Linked DNA regions of Homo sapiens: region 2 is linked to region 1. The links are contacts of gene promoters, found by promoter capture Hi-C in blood cells and fetal thymus (Javierre and others, 2016). All regions are on one chromosome and are shown on one strand. The core of a region is centred on a gene start or on the middle of the fragment in contact, and the rest is flanking DNA. Distances in the headings are between cores, read along the strand shown. Region 1 holds the start of TBC1D9-AS1 (TBC1D9 antisense RNA 1). Region 2 holds the start of SCOC-AS1 (SCOC antisense RNA 1).

Region 1 (7,643 bases), core at 3,252-5,751:
ATACTGTTGGTATCCTACCCCTCTGTTGTGACAAGTTTATAGCATGAAAAGAGAATGGTTTCCTGGAAATGACTTTGTAATTACTTTGCAAAGAAGGGCCCCCAACTCTAGTACACTACTTTTGTTATTGCCAATGATGATTTCTTCTCATCCATTATTGATATTTTTTTTTCTTTTTTGAGACAGGGTCTTGCTTTGTCACCCAGGCTGGAGTACAGGGGCACGATCATGGCTCTCTGCAACTTCCATCTCCAGGTTCGAGGGATTCTCTCACCTCAGCCTCCCAAGTAGCTGGGACTCTAGGCAAGCTCCACTACACCCAGCTGATTTTTAAAAAACTTTTTGTAGACATAGGAGTCTCACTGTGTTGCCCTTGCTGGTCTCCAACTCCTGGGCTCAAGCAATCCTCCTTCCTTAGCTTCCCAAAATGTTGGGATTATGGGCATGACCCACTGTGTCCAACCTATTATCAATGTTTTTCAAAACAGGTTTCAAGCTATCTTCAGGCCATGACTAAACTACTTAGAAAATTTCAGTTGGGCCTAATATATTCTGTAAGGGACTTATCTACATTTACAGGTCATTTACATTTATTGAAAACACATCCTGTTACAATAGACATCTTGATAAAATAAGGGTGTTACTGGTTACCGTACCCATGGTTTTGCACAGTCAAACCATCTTTGGTGAGCTTCTTTGTTTTGTTTCTCTCCCTTGTTGGTGCCAGGGTGTTTTCTTTATTTTCAGGTCTTCCGAGCTCAATTTTCTCTTTAAGGCTTTATCTAGACTTTAGCTGAAGATTGCTCCCACGTTATCCATCACAAAATGAAATTTGTCTGTGAGGTCCCTCAGTCTTATCCAGGTGGATAAAGGCTAAGATAGAAATGGAATGCAGGTGGAGTTGCTTGCCCTCAAAGTGATGAGGTTCCACGAAACTCCCAGGAATCAAGCCAGGCTGCTACTGTATCTCTCCCTTGCAAATAGCATGATTGTTTTAATTACAGTCTGTAGCCACTATTTTTATCTGTGTTAGAATATTTGGATGCAAGACTGGAAAACATTATTGCTGTTAATGCCTTTGCACCTTCTTATATAACTTGCTATAGTGTGGAAGGGAACATTTACTCAAAGAGCCTATCCAGATGGAGCCAAAGGGGTTAGTTAGGGTTTTTGTTGGTCACTTTGGGTTATAAGGAACAGGAGTCATTCAAGGTACTATGAATTCAACTTGCTGGGCTTTGTTACCAGGATGTATGCAAACTGCAGCCAGTCTGAAAGACCAGAAGCAAGATAACTGGAGGGTATAAACTGAAAATTCTAAGCTCCCCCAACTGATTGATTGGACCCCTTCTGTCAGCCAAGGGGATTCCAAAGTAAACCTGAAAAACTAGTTCAGGCCGTGATGAGAAAGGGGGGTCAGACATGCCTCATTATACTCTCCTTCCTTTGGAATTCAGGCACAACTGACCAGTATTAATATTAAAACAGAGATCTTAAGACTGACAAAACAGACTTGCTTTGTTTGTTTGTTCGTTTGTTTGTTTTGAGACAGGGTCTCACTCTGTCACCCAGGTTGGAGTGCAGTGGTGGGGCTACTGCTTACTGCAGCCTCGATCTCTCCTGGCCTCAAAAAATCCTCCCACCTTAGCCTCCCGAGTAGCTAGGGCTATAGGTGCACAACGCCACACCTGGCTAATTTTTAAATTTTTTTGTAGAGACAGGATCTCACTGTGTTGCCCGAGCTGGTCTCCTGGGCTCAAACAATCTTCCTGCTTCAGCCTCCCAAAATTCTGGGATTACAGGCATGAGCCACTATGCCTGCTCCAAAACAGACTCTTTGTAGCAGTAAGGTGCCTAATTCCAACCTGACTCTAGTATAGCATCACATGACAGAGAGCAGACTCTGAAAAAATTATTTTACCCCAAAATGTATTTCTTTAGCATGTTTTAAAATGGTCCTGGAAAGCTATCTCTTATGGAGGAAATGTACATTTTGTAGAAAGTCTTCCCTTTTCAGGTCTTTTTCTGATCCTGAAGAGATTAGCTCAGAGCTTAGCACCTTGTAAAGGTCTGAAGAGAAAACATTTGCTGTCTGTTGCCTCTCAGAGTGGCCACCTATGAGACATCATCTAAATAATAAGAATTTTGGTCTCCATAACCCCTTATCTTAACCCAACCACTTCTTTCTAACGATTAGAAGTCTTTAGATCATAACTTTCAATCGCCATTAAGAAAATCCTTGAATCCACCAAAGACCCAGAAGCCCCCACTTTGAGTGGTTCCTCCTGTCCAGACCAAGTTGATATACACCTTACATGTGTTGATTGATGTCTTATGTCCCTGTAAAACATATAAAACCAAGCTGCAACCCAGCCACCATGGGTACATGTTCTCAGGACCTCTTGAGACTGCCTCAGGCCTTGAACACTCATATTTGGCTCAGAATAAACCTCTTTAAATATTTTACAGAGCTTGACTCTTTTTTGCCAACAAGGGAAGTGGCTCATCTTTTCATCCTAGGCCACGTTTTAGCCTTGTGTGTTTGCACTAATCAAAGTCCCTGGTGAAAGGCTGCACAAGGTTGCCTTATTCTGTATCATCTTGCATTCACCTCTTCAGCCCCCCAGGCTAATATTATGCCAAGGGTTACCGATTCTGATTTTTGCCAGTGACCTTTACAGAAAGCAGCAGGAGCTGATTGGTTAAGTGGCTTCATCATTTACAAACTCTTATAGTAGGATCTTTAATGTTTCATTGATCCTATAGTATTAAAAACTGCAATTACTTTTGCACCAACCTAGTGGTTCATTATTTGATTATAATACATGTACATTGTACAAATTATAAAAGTACAATGTTTTATAGTGTATAGTTCCAATAGTATAGAAATTACTTTAAAAAATATAGTTTTTTTTTTTTAATTCTTTTTCAGAGATAGGGTCTCACTCTGTCTCCCAGGCTGAAGTGCAGGGTGTGGTCTTAACTCACTGCACCCTCTACCTCCTGGGCTCAAGTGATCCTCCTGCCTCAGTCTCCCAAGTAGCTGGAACTACAGGCATGCACCACTACACCTTGCTTAATTTTTAATATTTTTTTTGTAGAGACAAAGTCTTAATTATTGCCCAGGCTGTCTCAGACTCCTGGGCTCAAGTGGTCTTCCCACCTTGGCCTCCCAAAGTCCTGGGATTACAGTCCACTGTACCTGGCCTAAAAATATATTTCAAATAATAAAAAATGTTTCTGATTTCTGCCATATCAATCTCATTCCCAAGAGGTAACCATTATTAAGTTTAATATGCATCTTTCCTGGCATTTCCTTTGTTAATATAAGCACAGAGTGGCTGGTCTCCTGGGCTTTTTTCTTTGTCTTGCTTATATGTAGCTGAAGGCAACACCATGGGTACTTAGAGATTTAATGAATACTCAGTGGAAGGCCCATGAGGCGGCTCACACCTGTAATCCCAGTGCTTTGGGAGGCCAAAGTGGGAGGATCCCTTGAGCCCAGGAGTTGTAGACCAGCCTGGGCAACGTAATGAGACCCCCATTTCTATAAAAAAATTTAAAAATTAACCTCAAGACTCAGACCTTAGTTATAGATTAAAAGAAGTTAATCACCTATGTCTTTAGATGAATGCACACTTACATGTAGACATATAGCTTAGAAGGTATATAAGCTCTGGAAAACTGTAATTTTGAGTTGGTCTGGTGATAATTTCCAGGCCTTCTCCCTGTAACCGGTTGCAGAAATAAAAACTTTCTTCCTCCCCAGTTCATTTGCATCTCGTTATTAGGCCATGAGAAATAGCAGCCCGACCCTCAGTTTGTTCCGGAAACAATCATGCCACTGCATTCCAGCATGGGCAACAGAGCAGGATCCCATTTATCTATCTATCTATCTATCTATCTATCTATCTATCTATTTTTTTGAGATGGAGTCTCACTCTCTTGCCCGGGCTGGAGTACAATGGCGTGATCTCGGCTTCACTGCAACCTCCGCCTCCCGGGTTCAAGCAATTCTCCTGCCTCAGCCTCCTGAGTAGCTGGGACAACAGGCGCCCGCCACTACGCCTAGCTAATTTTTTGTATTTTTAGTAGAGATGGGCTTTCACCATGTTGGCTAGGCTGGTCTCGAACTCTTGACCTCGTGATTTGCCCGCCTGGGCCTCCCAAAGTGCTGGGATTACAGGCCTGAGCCACCGCACCTGGCATATATATATATTCTTTTTTTTTAAAGAGCATATTCAGAGAATACTTGATAAAAATGGTAAAATCAATTTGATTCATTTTGACACTGTAAACTTCCTGACTTGAGATAAACTAGTTATTAAACATCAAGTGCCTGCAACTGGAGTAAGGAATGTGATTCAGTGTGTATGAATACGTACCAGTTTGTAGCATTGATGAACTCCGTATACCAGAGGGAAAAAATGAACTTCAAAAAAAAATTTCTAAAATGTAAACGCCAGGTCCCTCTCCAAGGAAGTGTGTTTTTGAGGGAGCCTCTCATTTAGATATGGACTCTTAGCTAGCATGTTGCAACCTAGCAACAAGATTTCTAACCTGTGGTTATCTGTTGTGAAGTAGCAGCGTTAGTATAACCATGGTAACTGTCTGTTTGCTTGATGGCATGAGCTCTCTTTGAGTAAAAAAAGCCCAAAATAAAAGGTTGGAGGTAATTATATATTTTTTGTTTTCTCATCATAAATGTATTGAATGTACATTTGAGATATTTTTGAAAACACAGAAGACCATAAAATAGCAGAATTGTCATCTCACCTACTAATGTTAATATTCATATTTAGTTTTGTATTCTTTAAAATTAATACATGTATTGTAATTTGTAATATAGGTTATATTATACTTTTTTAGACAAATTGGGATCATACAGAATAGTAATTAGTTTTGTGCTGTTTTTCATATGCTAGGTGCATTTCACCATGTCATGAAATAATTACTTGAAGGTATGATTTTAAATGTCTACATATTATATCAATGTACTATAATTTATTTAGACATTGTAGGTCATTACCTAAATGTAATTTTGAATTCAGAATTATTTCTATTTCATATTATTTCGTTGCCAAGTTGTTCTTCAGCTTATCGATGCTCTCAATTATTGGCAGTTGAATTACGTAAGAGGATACATGAATTAGAAGAAGGGTTGACATCTCAGGACAGTGAGTGGCTTCTGCAAATGTGGCCTTCCTGAGAGAAGGGATCTGAGGGGTATTGCCCCCAGGTATCCAGGAGGGGATTGATATAGCTAATCTCTTAGAAACAGAGGTGGGCTTCATAGCGATGAACTCTTCCTACCACACCAAAAAGGCCCCTCCTTCCTACCTCTCAAGGTTGACCTTGGCTGACCTTGACCTTTGAGTTTTAGGTTTTCAGACCCGCCTCTACAGCCAAGATTAGAATCAATATAACTTCCTGTTGCACACAGAAGCAGCTGTAAATCTAAGACAATAGCATCCACTTTCCTATTACGGGACTTGAGGGGAAATTAAATTAAGCCCCCGCCTTTTGAGGGGCTTCTTTGAGGAATTAGATCACACAAGGCTTGGCGTAATTTTTTAATAACTTCAATCACATTGTCCTCACTGGTCCGTATCAGAGCAGATTTGAGTCCTGCACAAAGTCTGAAAGCAGCAAGCTTGTTCGTGGGGAAAGAATGAGCCAACACACTGCTGGGGTTTCAAGGCCAGCTTCCTAGGTATGCTTGTACACAGGAACCTACACTTAGAAAAGCGCTGGGCTTGGCTTAATATTCTACTGCTGCTGCCTTGAAATTCTGAAGAATTTTTTAACAAGGGGTCCTGAATATTCTTTTTGCACTGGGCCCCACAGATTATGTAGTTGGTCCTGATTAGGGTGTAGAGCAAGGTATTGCAGTAATAAAGTATTTGAATCATTCCTTCCTCAGACCACCCCCCCACCCAGGAGAAGGAAAAATCCATTCCAACTGTTCTCACTTTATGCAGGAGCAGGTGCTTGTGACTTTAAGAGATGGGCTTGCAGGGGAAATGGAACAGCTCCTGGAAGACATGGCCTTTTGAGGGTGCTTAGGAGATTTGAGCAGCACATACTAATTGGATACAGATAAAATGCTCTTCAGATTTTAGTTTTCTGCTCTGTTTGTTTAGTCATAACCCAGCCTGTGTTTTATCTTTTGAGGTGGAAAATATGAAAGTCACGGCTTCTCTCTCTCTTGTTGAGCATTTACTTTGTGAGTACTTATATGAACATGTATATCAAAGACCCTGTGATCCAGAATACTGCTTAAAATTCTACAGAGTGGGCGCTCCACCTCTCTTAGCTTTGTCATTCTTCTCCCTTTAGCTCACTCCCCTCTTTGTAAGAAATGAGGCAGGGGTCTCTCGGGGATCACCTAACACACTAGTTCATATTCCCAGCACTTTTTAACCAGTGCCCCTCGGGATAAACATACAACAAAACCCTCATGCCTCCTTCATTCACATATGTTGAGTTTTATGTTAGTTTGTTGAGTTTTATATTGGTTTGCATTGTGAAAACAGTCATTTTTTCCCAAATGAGAGTTATAGAATTGCGTGTGCTCTGTAAAGCTATATAAATGATTCTAAGAAACACAGTCCCAAGAACATGACTGCCCTAGAGCCTCTCCTCCCCTAATTTAATACTGTTTAAAGCAGGGGTTCCTGACTGTCAGGCTGCAGACAAGTACCTGTCAGTCCGTGGCCTGTTAGGAACTGGGCTGCACAGCAGGAGGTGAGTGGCAGGTGAGGGAGCATTTGAGCTCCACCTCGTTTCAAATCAACTGCAGCATTAGGTTCTTACAGGCACGAGAACCCTATTGCGAACTGCACATGCAAGGGATCTAGGTTGCAAGCTCCTTAAGACAATCTAATGCCTGATGATCTGAGGTGGAACAGTTTCATCCTCAAACCATCCCCAGACCACCCCACCCCCAACTCTGGTCCATGGAAAAATTGTCTTCCATGAAACCAGTCCCTGGTGCCAAAAGGTTGGGGACTGCTGACTTAAAGTACCAAATTTTAAACTGTTAACCAGTCTGCCTCCAGCTAAGAACAGATATTGAGATTAAGCATTTAGGAACCTAGAACAATTGTCTGTTAAATTTAATCAAAAAATTGGAAGCTTGTATTTTTTATGTCTTTTTTTTTTTTAGTATTCCATATGCATCATATTTTTACAAAAGTGTCAGTCTGTAACAGATTGAAAACTAAAAAACAAAGAAAAACTGATTTTTTTCAGCCCCGTCCCCCAGTTGGCAAAACTGATTCTTAGCCACAATGTTTGAGAAGCACTCTCCTAATTGAGTCAACAGTGTATTTCTTAGACTTCTTAATTCATCTTTTGACGAACAATGATGAATTGGGGTGTGTGTGTGTGTGTGTGTGTGTGTGTGTGTGTGTGTGTGAGAGAGAGAGAGAGAGAGAGAGAGAGAGATAAGGCTGGTTCCTTCCCCACAGGTAACGGTGTCATCCTTGAAGGCAGCCATGATACAGGGGCAGCTAGAATGGGGTTATGAGAAGCAGCTATTGAAATTGAGAGGAAAGAGTTGTGGATGGCCGTTTAAAACAATAACATTCCATAGTAGGCTTGTTGAGAACCATTTTTATCTAGAGATGCTGGAGAGTGGA
Region 2 (7,643 bases), core at 1,599-4,098, 340 kb after region 1:
AGGTCGCGCAAGGGTTCTGCCGGGAGCCAGGCCTCCGCCGCCCACCAAATGCCCAGGCCCGAGACCGCTCCTCCCGGGCCCCCGGTGCGCAGGGCCGCGTCCAGCCCGCCCCGCCCTCCAGGCCCTCGGAGGTACTGAGGATGCAGCTCTAGTCGCCTGGGGCCAGGCCCTCCGCTGCCCGGGACGGCCCTCACCTTCCGCTTGAGGCGCCGGGAGAAGGAGGGATCCGGCCGACACCTCAGGCCGGGACACTTGGACCAACTGACCCCGGCAGCTCCGCCCACTCCGCCCACAGAACGTGCGCCGTGAGAAGAATCCCATCCCGTCCCAGCCGCTCGCCCGCCAATCCTGACTCGAGAATACACGCCTGCGCATTAGCTGCCCGCCTCACCCCAGTCGTCCAATCTCAAAGCACCGGGATCCACCTTTGCCATAACAAAAGGACACTGACATCCAATCAGGATTGAGGTCGCTGTGGGCGGGACCTGGAACAGCGACAGCCAATGACAGTAAAGAAGCGAAGCTAAGCGGCGCTGGTGAAGCGGCTCATCAGGTCTATCAGGAAACCTGAGAATTGGAGTGAGAATCCCAGTGTGGAAAATCAGGAAAGAGGCTGGTATGAGCGACAGAGAAGTCATTCAGGAAAGAGGTTGGTATGAGCGACAGAGAAGTCATTCAAGTTCGAGAAAAGAGCGTTTGCGAACCAAGCAGAGAAAGTCAACGCGACACCGTCGTTCCTTAATTCTAAAAGCAGACTTTTTCATATTTTTCTTATTTCCGAAATCGGAAAGCTTATAGTTGAGCTAGTGGAATGTTCCTCTCCTCACGCCCCTCCTCCGAAACTATTATTAAATCTGTAGTGCGTGGCCATTTAATATTTTAGAATTGAGAAAATACCCTAGTGGTACTGAGGCATAGCACTTGTGCTTACCTTACCCCTGTGGAGCCTCACAGCAACCCACAGAAAGGAACTGAAGCCTGAGCGTGAACACATTTCTTGCTCAAGGTCACATATACGGTATCAAGAGTGGAGTGTTCTTCGTGACACCGTTCATCGTAATCTAGTACTTGACACAAAGCGGCATCCTGCTTTAATATTCGTTGAGTACAAGGTAGACATCCACAGCAATACATTATTATTTTGGCTTTGGCACAGCCTCCTAAGCTGTAGAGACAAGCCTTATGTCTCCCTGTTTCTTGACTTTTTACTTCTGGCACAGTTTGCTGACACATCGCCTTAATCATTTTAAGAGCTATATAAAAATATCTTCTATTCAGTGTTTTGAGAACTATGCATTTGGCTGCGACTGCAATATTCAGTTTGAGGAAATTTACTAGAATGCAATGTAGGAGCTAAATAAATGAAAAAAAATCCAACATAAATCTAATAGGAGTGCCAAAAAAGAGAGACTAGAGAGAATGGATGCAGGCAGTATTCAAAGAGTAATAACTAAGAATTTTCCAAGATTGTGGAATATTTGAATTTTCAGATTCAAGAAGTACTTATTCTTGAGCAGGATTAATATAAGAATTCTATGCAACGGTGAAATTGCAGGACACCAAAGATCAAGAGAAACTATTAAAAGCAACCTTTTGTTTTTGCTAGAACAGTATTTTTAAATATTTTTAATTGTAGTGAAATATACATAGAATAAAATTTACCATCTTAACCATTTTTAACTTCAGTAGTATAAGATACATTCCACATTGTTCTCCAACCAATCTCCAGAACCAATCTCTCTTTTCATCTTGCCAAACTAAAACTGTATACCTATTAAAGAGCAACTCTCCATTTCCTATTCCCCTCATCCTCTGGCAGTAATCATCTTACTTTGTGTTTATCAGTTTGACTACTCTAGGTACCTCACCTAAGTGGAATAATACAGAATTTGCCCTTTTATGACTGGCTTATTTCATTTAGCATAATGCCTCAGAGTTCATCCATGTTATAGCATATTGCAGAACTTCCTTTTTAAGGCTGAATAGTTCTATATATCATTTATTATGTGTATTATGCCACATTTTGTTTATTCATCTATCAGTGGACGCTTAGGTTGCTTCCTCCTTTTGGCTATTGTGAATAATACTGCTATGGACATGGGTGTGCAAATGTCTCTTTGAGACCCTCTTTTCAGTTCTTTTGGATATACACCCAGAAGTGTGTGTTAATTTGTGCTGAATCATATGGTAATTCTATTTTAAAGCAACTTTTAAAAAAGTGGTATTGACACAAGAATAGACAAAAAGAAAATTAGGAAAAAAAGGGTACCTGGAAGTTGGTATACAATAAAGATGTCTGGTGAGGAATAACTGTTTCTAAGGTTGTGGGGAAAAAACTATTATTCATTACTGTTGGGAGTGTAAATTAGTATAGTAACTGTTCGTGGGATATAGAAAACACAAGTTATGGTGGTTCTAGTTAAATTGGCTATTTATATAAAAATAAGAAATTCAATCCTGATACCACGACAGAAATAAAACTAAATTCCAAATGAAATAATGATCCAAAATGTGACAAACAAAACTCTAAACTTTTAGAAGAAAAGCGTATGTCTGTATATCGCCGTAGGGAAGAAACAGCACGATTCATTAAGGAAAGATGTAAAATATTGATTATTTTAAAATTTGGAAGTTTTACAAACAGAAGAGAAGCCATCTCTAATCAAGTTAAAAAACAAGCCACAGGTTGGCAGAATATAGTAAAACTCTCAAAATATAAAGAATTCAGGCCAGGCGCGGTGGCTCACGGCTGTAATCCCAGCACTTTGGGAGGTCGAGGCGGGTGGATCACGAGGTCAGGAGATTGAGACCATCCTGGCTAACACGGTGAAACCCCGTCTCTACTAAAAATACAAAAAATTAGCTGGGCGTGGTGGCGGGCGCCTGTAGTCCCAGCTACTCGGGAGGCTGAGGCAGGAGAGTGGCATGAACCCAGGAGGCAGAGCTTGCAGTGACATGGTGCCACTGCACTCCAGCCTGGGCGACAGGGTGAGACTCCGTCTCAAAAAAAAAAAAAAGAATTCAGACAAATCAGTAAGAAAAAGACAACTCAAGATAAATATATGCAAATAACGTAAGTAGGCCACTTACAGAAGAGGAAAACTGAACGGCCAGAAAGGTTTTTAAAAAATGTTTACCTTCACTAATAATTAGGTAAAATAACATTAAAACAATTAGATAAAGGGGCATATTCATCAAGAAGACACAAAATCCTAACCACAGTGCTACAAAATAGAAATGAATCAAAAATTAATTGAATTCAAACAGTTCATTACTCCCTGCTCTGCAATTTGTAAAACAACTATACAGATAATTTAAGTATACAGAACTCAGGTCCCAAACTTTTCAGTATATTAGAATCACCTGGGAATCTTTTAATTATTCTAGTGAACAGACCACACCTCAGAATAAATTACAGTCTTAAGGAGTGAGATACAGGCATTAGTATTTTTGAAAGTTACGAAGGTGATTTTGAAAAAAGGCTGGCAAATTTCTGAACTATTGATATAGAAGACCTGAACAATCCTATCAGCCAACTTGACCTAATGGACATTTGTAGAACATTGCACCCAATAACTGAAGAACATGCTTTCTTTTCCAATGCACTTGGAAAATTCATCAAAATAGACTCCACTGTGTATCATCAAACAAATCTCAGCAAATTTAAAATAATTGAAACAGTAAAAATTATTGTCTCTACCCACAAATTAAACTAGAAATCAGTAACAGAAAGATATTTGTAAATCTCCAAATAGTTGGAAATCAAACTATGTACTTCTAAACAAACCATGGGTCACAGGGGAAGTCACACACAAAAAAATTAGAAAGTAATTTTAAACTAAAATGTAAACATAAAAAGGCAGCTCTTGCATGACTCAGCTTTCAGCTTATTTTCAGCTTTCAGACTTGGGAGGCTGAAGCAGGAGAACTGCTTGAACCCAGGAGGTGGAGGTTGTAGTGAGCTGAGATGGCGCCATTGCACTCCAACCTGGACAACAAGAGCGAAACTCCATCTAAAAAAAAAAAAAAAAAAAAAAAAAAAAAAAAAAAAAAATCCCCCTTCTGAATAAGGAAAGGCTATAAGTACAAATAGAAACCACTGAGATTGCATAGAAATATTTGATTATAAGGTGAACATTCATGCGACCTGGACTATGTGAATATTGATAATATAGTTCATCTAAATAAAGGCACAAAATTACATTTTTTTTCCTAGAGAATGGGGGAAGTCCTAATTGAAAACTGTACAAGGCAATATATTATGTGGGGGAAGAAATGATAAATAATGAAATAGAGAACTTCCAATATCTTTTTGATGTTCCAGTCTGGCACACTCTCATTGTGCACATACAAGCTGCTATTTTGTCTTAATTAGAGGGTTCTAAACGTACTGTGGATATTTAAGGTGAAATATGCTAAATGGAAGCATTTTTGATAACTTTCAAGTATAACCAGGTGTGTTGTCTGATGCTTTAAGCTCATTAATTTGCAGAACATGTTCCATCTCATTCCTAAATAAGAACTCACATTTTCTTTTTTACTCATTTTTTTCACTTGAAAGGTTATTGAATTCATTGGAGAATGAATGCTGTTCTGAATTTGGTGAGTAAAGAATATAACCTATTTGTTAAAACTTGATTTCAAAACTAGACGTAATTGTATACTACAGCCTAGTATACTATACTCAACAGTATACCATATAGCTATTTGGTAAATTAAGGTGTTCATGTATACTTTCTCAAGATTATAATTTCTGATAATAACCAAAAGTAAATAAATTTGATGAGTCATTTTCATTTATTTGTTCAATAGGTAGAGGGAATGTAAGAAATTACCAATGTACTTTTAGAGTTTTTTCAAGCAAGAATTCCAAAGGATTTCAAGGTCTTTATGGAATCAAGCTTTGGACTTTATCATAAAAATGGAAATAATTAGGAATGATTCTGTGCAGTCTCGGTGCTGTGAAAGGAGAATAAAAACGTGAGACTCCAGTTCACTCTGCCAGAAGGAAAAAAATAAGCTGAAAGCTGAGTCATGCAAGAAGCTGCCTTTTCTTCTGTTCCTAAGCAGATAGCTACAGATAAAAGGTTAAATATCTCCATAGGTAGCTACTCTATGTTCACCCTATTTCATGTAAAGTGCTGATTTGCTGCACACAAGATGAATGCATCATTCACCATTCCCCTACCTGCGCCTTTTCTCCTGCAACTTAGATTACTATACCCTCGCTCTTACCTCTCCAACCCACTTTTCCCCTTTAAATACTGAAGCTCTCAAAGTCATCCTTGGATAAAGGAACAGACCAGAGACTGTTTCTGTGATTCTGTGTTCTTTTCTTCCAGGTATGTCCTTAACCTTGGCAAAATCAACTTCTAAATTGAATGAGACCTGTCTGAGATACTTTTTGGTTTACAGTCCTTATTTTTCTCTAGATAGTATTTTCAAATTAGCATTTCCCCCAGAATTGGTATTTATACCTCTGGTTGTACAAGATGAATTTTTAAAAATAATTACATGTTTATTTTATTATAATAAATACGAATAATACAAGAAATTCTCAATTCACAGATGTTAACATGTTGCTTAGAATAAAGCTAAGTTCAAAACTGATTTTAATTAAATGGTTAATTTAATGTGGCAAAAATTATGATGTAGGTATATGATTGGTTCAGAAAACTCTGATCTACCAACAACGTGACAAGCATTGGTTTGAAGAAGAAGAAACCTGGGTTCTTGTTCTGGCTCAGCCTAGATTGAATTCATTCCATTCTTTGCTCATTTAAAAGTTTAGTTTTGTGACTATATCGTGAGCTAGATACTGTACAGCATTCAAATATTTGAAATTAACCATGAGACTGCAGGGAGTTAGTCACTTTCCTGTCCACCCCTGTTTCCTCAAGTGAGGGCTTGGAAGAGAGTTCATTTAGCTTCTTAACATGGTGTAAAATAACATTAAGAACTTTATCAAACAACACTACCAGTGAGTTAAGTGAATGGTTCCCTATATTTAAGAGTCAATCTTTGCTGGTAAGATTGTGTCTGACCATCCAGCTTTTGGCACCCTGCCTGCCACAGGTTCTCAAAGCATATTTTCTGAGTGAGTTGTCATTGAGCCACCTCATTCCAGCTTTTGTGATTTTGTGATTCTGTGATTCTCTAAACACGAATCTACATTTTCAATCATGTCAGCTGGGTACTTGCTCACTAAAATTTTATAAAAATAATCTGGCTTTAGACTGGGCACAGTGGCTCACATCTGTAATCCCAGAACTTTGGGAGGCTGAGGCAGGTGGATCATGAGGTCAGGAGATCAAGACCATTCTGGCCAACATGGTGAAACCCCGTCTCTACTAAAAATACAAAAATTAGCCAGGCATGGCAGCACACACCTGTAGTCCCAGCTACTCGGGAGGCTGAGGCAGGAGAACTGCCTGAACCTGGGAGGCAGAGGCTGCAGTTAGCTAAGATCACGCCACTGCACTCCAGCCTGGGCAACACAGCAAGACTCCATCTCAAAAAAAAAATAATCTGGCTTTAAAATCAAGATTAATCATATGTGTCTGGGTCACTAAAGGAGATTCTGTTTTTAACAAGCATAAAGTAATTCTCTGAAGAGCATAGAAGTCAGGGTTACAGTGATAACTAATATTTTTATTTATTTATTTATTTATTTATGAGAAATGGTCTTACTCTGTCACCCAGGCTGGTGTGTAGGGTCTTGCTCTGTTGCCCAGGCTGGAGTGCAGTGGTGCGATTTTGGCTGACTGCAACCTGCACCTCCCAGGTTCAAGTGATTCTCCTCCTCAGCCTCCCGAGCAACTGGAATTACAGGTGCCTGCCATGACACCCGGCTAATTTTTGTATTTTTAGTAGAGATGAGGTTTCACTATGTTGGTCAAGCTAGTCTCAAACTCCTGACCTCAAGCGATCCACCCACCTGGGCCTCCCAAAGTGCTGGGATTACATGCGTGAGCCACCACGCCTGGTCAATAACTAATATTTTATAAAAGAATGCACCTGGCCTTCTTCCTTCTTGCCAAACGCCACCAACATGGTGTTCAGGCGCTTCGTGGAGGTTGGCCGTGTGGGCTACATCCCCTCTGGACCTCGTGCCAGAAAATTGGTTGCAACTGTAGATGTTATTGATCAAAACAGGGCTTTGGTTGATGGACCTTGCACTCAAGTGAGGAGACAGACCATGCCTTTCAAGTGCATGCAGCTCACTGATTTCAACCTCAAGTTTCCACACAGAGCCCACCAGAAGTATGTCAGACAAGCCTGGCAGAAGGCAAACATCAATACAAAATGGGCAGCCACACGATGGGCCAAGAAGATTGAAGCCAGAGAAAGGAAAGCCAAGATGACAGATTTTGATCATTTTAAAGTTATGAAGGCAATGAGGAACAGAATAATCAAGAATGAAGTTAAGAAGCTTCAAAAGGCAGCTCTCCAAAAGCTTCTCCCAAAAAAGCACCTGCTGCGAAGCGTGCTACTGCTGCTGCAGCTGCTGCTAAAGTTCTAGCAAAAAGATGACCGCTGCAGGCAAGAAGGCTCCAGCTTAGAAGCTTCCTGCCCAGAAAGCCACAGGCCAGAAGGCAGCGCCTCCTCCAAAAGCTCAGAAGGGTCAAAAAGCTCCAGCCCAG

What was found. The method cuts DNA at HindIII sites, captures the fragments that hold promoters and counts their contacts. A CHiCAGO score of 5 or more calls a contact.
Region 2: a fragment that was not itself captured here is called in contact with the fragment with the promoter of TBC1D9-AS1 in region 1 in 1 of 17 cell types (total B cells); the score reaches 6.3 in total B cells.

The regions. Positions count from the first base shown.
Region 1 is chr4:140,709,026-140,716,668 of GRCh38, reverse strand. TBC1D9-AS1 (TBC1D9 antisense RNA 1) reads right to left here and starts at 4,501. Exons shown (of 2, transcript XR_007058283.1): 1 at 4,386-4,501; 2 at 573-873. The region is part of intron 1 of TBC1D9 (TBC1 domain family member 9); the gene reads left to right. The HindIII fragment of the contact is 8,622 bases long and covers 1-5,655 here.
Region 2 is chr4:140,366,269-140,373,911 of GRCh38, reverse strand. It overlaps SCOC-AS1 (SCOC antisense RNA 1), which reads left to right and starts at 520. Exons shown (of 5, transcript NR_033939.1): 1 at 520-649; 2 at 4,562-4,602. It overlaps SCOC (short coiled-coil protein), which reads right to left and starts at 266. Exons shown (of 4, transcript NM_001153484.2): 1 at 195-266. It also overlaps the pseudogene RPL14P3. RefSeq lists a silencer at 1-176 and enhancers at 337-386, 82-583. The HindIII fragment of the contact is 4,110 bases long and covers 794-4,903 here.